Linked DNA regions of Homo sapiens: region 2 is linked to region 1. The links are contacts of gene promoters, found by promoter capture Hi-C in blood cells and fetal thymus (Javierre and others, 2016). All regions are on one chromosome and are shown on one strand. The core of a region is centred on a gene start or on the middle of the fragment in contact, and the rest is flanking DNA. Distances in the headings are between cores, read along the strand shown. Region 1 holds the start of ARAP2 (ArfGAP with RhoGAP domain, ankyrin repeat and PH domain 2). Region 2 overlaps TXK (TXK tyrosine kinase).

The links. Contacts are between HindIII fragments. The CHiCAGO score rates a contact against its expected background, and 5 or more counts as called.
Region 2: a fragment that was not itself captured here is called in contact with the fragment with the promoter of ARAP2 in region 1 in 1 of 17 cell types (non-activated CD4 T cells); the score reaches 6.9 in non-activated CD4 T cells.

Annotation. Positions count from the first base shown.
Region 1 is chr4:36,241,721-36,245,786 of GRCh38, forward strand. It overlaps ARAP2 (ArfGAP with RhoGAP domain, ankyrin repeat and PH domain 2), which reads right to left and starts at 2,794. Exons shown (of 33, transcript NM_015230.4): 1 at 2,459-2,794. LOC439933 (a long non-coding RNA gene) reads left to right here and starts at 2,396. Exons shown (of 5, transcript NR_122079.1): 1 at 2,396-2,491; 2 at 3,452-3,590. RefSeq lists a silencer at 2,590-3,169. The HindIII fragment of the contact is 5,605 bases long and covers 1,657-4,066 here.
Region 2 is chr4:48,125,875-48,129,800 of GRCh38, forward strand. The region is part of intron 1 of TXK (TXK tyrosine kinase); the gene reads right to left. Among named protein-coding and RNA genes, the nearest start is that of TXK, 6.4 kb to the right of the region's middle. RefSeq lists enhancers at 1,265-2,127, 3,649-3,768 and a silencer at 1,478-1,772. The HindIII fragment of the contact is 7,843 bases long and covers 1-3,926 here.

The DNA of each region.
Region 1 (4,066 bases), core at 1,544-4,043:
CACTTAAATTGTAATGGTGAGAAAAATCCAATTTTATGACCCTAATTTCCACATGGTTTTATATTTTAGTATTGTTTTAAATACATGGAGAAGTGGCCCCATCATCCTTCATGAGTTCTCAGGAACTCTAAAAAATCTCAAATCTGCCACCTAAACCACTGCTTCAACCCAAATCAGGCCTCCTTTGTTTTCTCTGCAGCATGGGTAAATAAGTAAGCTTGTGCTGAACAGAAACTGAAACAAAATTTCACAGGACAACTTTCTAACTAGAAAAGATCACGTGAGGAGAATACCATTAAGTACTGCTTCATTTAAAGAAGAAACAAGTGAGCAAAATGGTTTAACTACCATTATATATTTAATCTGGCCAATACTTACAAGTAATAACTAAAATGATAAATTACAAGGTCCAGAACTTTGCAGAAAAGATTAAGACAGCGTCTCATAGCCTCTAATCTCACATCCACCATATGTGGTCAAAGCTAAGACATATTTCCCAGATTATTAAGAAGTTCTCTACCTAATTAATATTTCACCAAGAATTCCCAAAACTCTTACAATGTAGCATGTGCAAAGATTGTATCCAAGAAATGTATCAATAAATAAATGAGGACAGGTGGAAATGTATGCTAAAAGAAAACTATTAAAGCAATGACTATTATTTATACTTAGCATTTTTATAGTCACTTTCACCAAACTTTCTCACAGTTGCAGGGAGGTGGGTTAGAAAGTAACAAAACGAAACAACAACAACAACAAAAAACTTCTCATATATCATGAAGTCTATAACCCAGAATTCTACGTAGACTTTAAAACTTCATAGTTTCAATGCGTTAAAGTTCTTAAGAAAACTGTAATTCATTATAATCTGAGTTCTATACTTCTCCACAGTATCCAAGAATAGTTGGATCTGATATTATTGCATATCCATGAGCCTTACACTGCAAGGAGCTTGCAGTGATATTAGAAAAACAAGAATTTGTTTTTAAACGTACCATCAGCTTCTCCTTTTACAGACAAGCCACATAAAATCTGACAGGTTTACAGACGAAGGAAAAAATACAAACACAAGCACACACCCATATAAATACGTTTTAACAAGCTCTCTCACTTACCCTCTAGGTACATTTTAATTCAAATAAATCTTTGAGTACTGACAAATCTATATAAAACCCTCTTCGTGTTAGGAACCACCTTAAATGTGTATGTGTTAAATATGTTTAGAAAGAAGCCAGGAAGATATTTGCACTTAACCCTAGCCTAGTTCCATGACCCACTTTTTTTTCTTCTTTAAACGTTGTTGGACAAAAAATGTCATGAGTATTTTCTCTCAATATTTCTCCTGTAAGTGTATGGAAGTCATAAATAAGAGTTAAAAAAAAAAGAGTTTAAAGGTATTTCTCTTTTTTTCCTTAAAAAAAGTTAGCTTGCTTTTTATCTTCCAATTACTTACGGGCAAAGTTCCATGGGCCTGTGGGGGTGTAGAGTGCTTAAGTGCAGATAAATCAATACTGAGCTTGTAAGTACAATACTATTATGAGTAATAACAATGACATCCTATTAAATGTACTTTTAAAAATAGCTTATTTTCAATACACTTCTTGATTTTTTTTAAACCGAAGGCTGTATTCTACTGAACAGCCTACTTCAAGGACAAGCTTGCAAAAAAAAAAAAAAAAAAAAAAAGAATTTGCTATCAGGATACCTACTTACAACACCCTAAGATGTCATTATTCCACACAAATTAGCTTATTTTCTTGTGTTTTCCTCTAATTATCAAAGGCTATATAATCCACGAACCCTTTCCCCAAATCAAAATAACTCCAGATCACCTCAAGGTAGGAGGTGTTTAAGAAAACAAGCCAGAATTAGATAAAGTAAAACTTACTTTATTAAATAGGATGGACACCACTTCTCCCAAGAGAACTGTCTCCAAAAGTAAACAAGAAAGATCAATCTGGTAAACTCACATCATACAGGTTCCCGTGTAAGGTATCGGGTTCAGGCAGGTGGAAGCCAAATGATCGTAATTAAAGTTAATTAACAGGCCAGTCGTCTTAACGTGGTTAACAAGCAGGGTGCGGGGCAGCACAGACACCCGGGCAAATTCATGATCTCTACCGAGTAAATAACTTGGTGCCTGAAACTCACTACAGCTTCTTCTTATTTAAAGGTAGGGGAGAGGAATGGAGGGAGTGTCCAGCTGTCTATCCGGATCCTCACCCTCCCGGGTCAAATCCCAGAAGTGGAGTTCTTGGATCACTTACCGGCTTCTGGTTTCCTTTCAGACGCCCACACGCGGGAGCGAAATCCAAGGGGCGGACACCAGAGCCGAGCACTTTGCGCTGAGGAAATTTACCCGGTGAAGTGTCGAAAAGCCCCAGCCCCTCCAGACAGGGTCCTCCCACCCCCGCGTGGGCCATCCCGGCCCAGCCTTCCCGAGGCCCCGGGTACTCGCCTTGCGCTCGGGTCGCGGAGTTCGAAAAGCGAGGTGAGGCGGCGCTGGGAAGCTCAGCGCCGGCGTCTCTCCCAGCCTTGGGCGCTCGGTCCTCGCCCCTCTGCCGGAGGCGCCAGGCCTCCTCTTTCCCGGTCCCCGCCGGCTGTCCGCAGTCGCCTCTGCTGCCTGGCGGCGGCCGCGCGGGCGGCGCTGTTAGTGGGGCCGGCGTGTCGCGGCCGCCGCACCTGGAGGCGGGGAGCGCGGGCCGCGGACCCGCGCTCAGCTCCGGAAACGCCGAGCCCGGCGCCCGCGCCTTGCTCAGGTGCTCCCGCGCCTCGCCTCGGCCGCCGCTTCCTCTCCGCCCGCGGGGGCGGGGAGCAGGCGCCCCGCGCGGGGGAAGCCGGAGCTCAACGGCGGGGGCGGCCCAGCCGGCCTCCCTGGTTCCGCAGCATAGTTGGGTGACTGACTCAGACCGCCGCGACTTGGCCGCGCCTGGCACCCTCGCCACCTGGCGCACCTCGGCCCGGAGGCGTCAGACCCCGCTGGGGAAGCTGCGGGGGCGCGCCCTGGAGCCCAGAGCGACAGGGGCATTACCCACCTTCCCGGGACGGAGATGCCCAGGACCTTGTGTTGGCTCCTCCTGGCCAGTGGGTTTGTCTGTGCGCACTCATGGGGGGTTGAATGTCAAATGGGCGGAACCTCGCCACGACTGATTATTAGTATTACTCTTCCAAGTACTTAAAGTGTTAGCTCAGCGTTTCCCAAACTGAAGACTCATCTAGGGCACTATTTTCCCCAGGCTGCTTCTATGTAAATTTGCTCCTTCTTGCACCTGTGGCGGTTAGATCCCAGAGGGGCATTTCCCCTTTGAGTTGGACTCTGACAAAGGAGGCAGCGAAGGAAAATAGGGGATCCCAAAGAACCCTTGTGGACCTCCAAATATCTAAGCGTCCGTAAAATCCAGTTATTTGCAAGTGAGTTCACAGACCAACTACTTTTTTTTTTTTTTTTTAGACAGGGTCTCACTTTGTCACCCAGGCTGGAGTGTAGTGAGGCAATCTCAGCTCATTGCGCCTCCGCCTCTGGGTCCAAGCTATCCTCCCACGTCAGCCTCCCAGGTAGCTGGGATTACAGGCGCGCACCATCAGCCAAGGTAATTTTTTTTGTATTTTTGGTATAGACGGAGTTTCGCCTTGTTGCCCAGGCTGGTCTCAAACTCCTGACCTCAAGTGATCCACCTGCCTCGGCCTCCCAAAGTGCTGGGATTACAGGCGTGAGACACTGCCCCCTACCAGCTTTTTTTTTTTTTTTTATAAACATCTCCCACAGACTACCTGAAATTCTCTTCATTAAAAGGTGAAATGTATTTATCTTTCCCCTGTTCCTGTTGATGGAAGTGAAGCAATTAAGGAAAGCGCAGACCTTATGAAAATGAGATAATTGGTGAAGTGCGGAAAGAGAGAGGCTTCCCACAAGCCTGGGCCCTTAGGATTCTTCAGTCATCACCTTCACCCACACTAACTACCTGCCCAAAGCACCGTCTTTCCCTGGGGAGACTCTGAAGCAGCTCTGTCTTACTAGAGACACCAAATATCCAGTTCCTTTTGAACTTAATACCTCATAGCCGAC
Region 2 (3,926 bases), core at 1,186-3,685, about 12 Mb after region 1:
CTTGCTCAGGGGAGGTCTGACTTTCATTGATTAGGGACTTCAACTGTGGGAGAGGCCCACTCACATGATGGAGGGTGACCCACTGTACTCCAAGTCCACCGATTTAAATGTTAATCTCATCCAAAAATTACCTTCACAGAAACATCCAGAATAATGTTTGATCAAATATCTGGGCACCATGGCCAAGCCATGTTGACCCATAAAATTAACCATCACAACACATTAAATTTAAATAGTTTGACACTTGAAAAACATGGTATAAACATTTACATGAAGATTTTCTTCTGCCTCTGTCACCCCTGAGACAGAAAGACCAATCCCTCCTCTTCATCATCCTTCTCAGACTATTCAACATGAAGATGACGAGGATGAAGGCATTTATCATGAGCCACTTTCACTCCATGAATAGTAAATCTATTTTCTCTTCCTTATGACTTTCTTAAAGCATTTCTTTTCTCTAGCTTACTTTATTGTAAGAATACAGTGTATGATACACATAACATACAAAATACGTGTTGATCAACATTTATGTTATTGAGGCTTCTGGTCAATGTTAGGCTATGAGTAGTTACATTTTGGGGAACCACCTTATTCAAGTGTCAACAACTTTGTGTGTGTGTGTGGTTGTTTGTTTTGTTTTGTTTGAGATGGAGTCTTGCTCTGTCATCCAGGCTGGAGTGCAGTGGCATGATCTCGGCTCACTGCAACCTCCGCCTCCCAGGTTCAAGCGATTCTCCTGCCTCAGCCTCCCAAGTAGCTGGGACTACAGGCACACTCCACCATACCCGGCTAATTTTTTTGGTATTTTTAGTAGAGATAGGATTTCACCACATTGGCCAAGCTAGTCTCAAACTCCCAACCTCAAGTGATCCCCCTCTTTGGCCTCCCAAACTGCTGGGATTACAGGCAGGAGCCACCATGCCTGGCCAAGTCAAGAACTTTGAAAGAGAAATTGCTGTTATCAGTCAGCAGGCAGGAGTATCTGGGACTAGAGAAATGCCTCCCCCAGCTCCCTGACCTCACAACACATGGCCACACCTGATAATATTCCCCTTAGTTGTCTTCACTGTCTTCTGCAGCCTGGAATTTAGGAGAAAATATTTTCAAAAATTCTTATGTTTCCTGATTCAATAGCAAAGACAATGGCCTTTAAAGAAAGATACAGACCTACCCTACCACTGCTTTAATTATGACCCAATTTTATTTAATTTCCCTCAAAGTCCAAGAACAGTGGTGAGCAGGAAGGCAAACCACTGCTTTGTTTGTGGTTCCATCCTCTGCCCAGCAGAGTTGCTGCCCAATAAATAATCATTGCGAGAAGAAAAATCACACTATGAAAGCCAAACAGCTCCCTGGTGTTCCCTTGCTTGGCATGACTTTCCAAGACAGCAGGCATCTTTATTTACAGGTTGAAGTGTTGGGCCAAAATTCATTCCAATGCAGGTATCAAGGAGTATTCATTTCATGATCATTTTCAATTTACAGCAGCACAGGTGTTCCCAGTAAGTAAATAGACAGCGCCCTTCCACAGGCATTCTGTGATTACAGAAGCCATTCTTTGAATTGTTTTGCCGATTAACCTGCAGAGGGAAAGCTCTTGAGCTTTTAGCAAATTCCCAACTTAGGCAGGAACTCATGCATATCAAGGGCCTTTGCCAGAGTGACAAAAATGCCCCAGAGATAGGCAATGACTATTTGCCTGCTGGAAGGAAATGTGGAAAGAATATATTCGGGCTTGAAGATTATCACTGAAGGAGCTGAGCTTCCTCTCCCAGGCTTACATCTGCGCTGTTCTTTTCATCTACTTCTCATTCCTCAGTAAATATCTCTAATGATGAGCCTCAGGCCAGCAAATCAGAAAAAGGGCATCGCATCAGATGTAATCTCTGTGACCTTTAGAAACCGGCACATCTGTCATGGGATAGGCAGTTGGCCCTCCCATCTTTGGTATTTGTGTTTTTTCCTTGGAAGGATTTGCGCCCCTCTGTCCTCTAGGAGAGGCTCCTATTGACATTCCTTCCACCCCCAGAGGTTCCTGGGTGGCAACAGCTGGGCTGATTGGGAACAGGTTTCCACCAGGGGGCACTGGAAGAAAGCAAAAGTGAGAAGCACCCCTTCTCAGAATAGCTCCTAAGGTCATCTCTGAAGAGGACAAAGGAACAGATGTGAAGAACTGTGGGGCCCGGGCTGCGCGGGAAGCAAAGCCGCTGTCGCTTCCTCATGTCTAATGTTTTGAAGTTTACATCGTCACCTCCAGTTCATCCCCTGGCATTTCCGATGTCAGGGTTTCGTTTTGAATCAGTGCCTTGAGTGAAATGCATTCCTACTGAATTTGGTCATCATAATAACTGGCACATGGCTAGTGATTTATATTTAAAAACATGGCTTGAAACTGGCTCAGTTTTGAGAGCTGCCTTAACCCAAAGACCAGGCTTGTTGCCCAAGCCAGGCGCTCCAGGTTGTGGTTTTAAGATGAGGAATGTCTGATACCGGCTGCTTTTGCAGTTGATGGGCTGTGGTGAGTGGGGAAAGCCTTAAAAACTTGTGGCTTTGGAAAAATGGCTCTGGGTGACCAGAGCTGATTCTGTAAGTTTGCTGCAACATATCCTTTTTGTTTTTTTTTCCAGAAATTTACAGAAAGGCCAAACTTCCTCATTACTCTGCCATAAATGCCCACCACTACATCCTTTTTTTTTTTTTTTTTTTTTTGAGATGGAGTCTCACTCTGTCTCCCAGGCTGGAGTGTGGTGGCACGATCTCAGCTCACTGCAACCTCTGCTCCCGGGTTCACGCCATTCTCCTGCCTCAGCCTCCCGAGTAGCTGGGACTACAGGTGTCTGCCACCACGCCCGGCTAATTTCTTTTTGTATTTTTAGTAGAGACGGGGTTTCACTGTGTTAGTCAGGATGGTCTCGATCTCCTGACCTCGTGATCCACCTGCCTCGGCCTCCCAAAGTGCTAGGATTACAGGCGTGAGCCACCGCGCCCAGCCTATCTTCAAAAGGCCCCATTTCTTAAGGGCCTTTTGAAGATAGGCACGTTTTAGCCACATTAACCCATATTATCTGGGGAGAGTGACACATAACTAGCTTGGCTATAGCATGGATGGATTTCTACCTCTGAACAGGAGTTAGAAAAGACTTCCAAGTTGGAGTTAGACTTCTTGGTTTGGAGTTAGACACCAAACCAAGACCCCACACCAAGGAGAGGGGAAAATAGTAAAATTGGGACATTGAGTTTTTCACATATTTATTCAATTTAGAAAGTTATCCTTTATTCTGAGTTTATGCCCTTTATACATTTGGGGTCTGAAGTGATCCTGTGTCTGTGTTCGCACGTGTGTGCACTTTTCCTTTTGATACTAAAATGTCCATTATTCTAAGAAGTGATGGTCTCCAGAGATGTTAGTTTTTCTAAATGTATGGATAAAATAAGTGAGTAATTTGTGTTAGACCTTGACTGTTCTGTTTTTTTGACATTATACTGCCAGTGAAACCTTAAAGAAGGGAGGATAACTACTTTAGGGGAGTCACTGGTGACTAAGAGAAAACAAGTACCTAGCTAACAGGACACCAAACTGATCAATTTGAGTGGAAGAGTGGTGCTTGACCTGTCTATGGCCTGAAGGGGTGCTGTGTGGGGTGAGGAGATTCTAGAAGCCTGGCAAGCTGGATGGAGTCCCGGGCACCAGGGAAGACAATGTTTCTGGGAGTAAAAGGTGCTGTAAGGAAAGGCAGAAATCTTCCTGATGATGACCGCTCATCTGTTTCCCAGCTTCTGCCAGGGCAACTCCCCAGACACGGACAGCAGCCACCCAAACCCTTGTTTGGTCTATGAGGCAATTTTTCTTTCTTTCTCAGAAGGGGCTGATGTGAGTTGGTCTTTGCAGGCACCTTGCCCACAACTTCCCCACTCCCCCACATCTC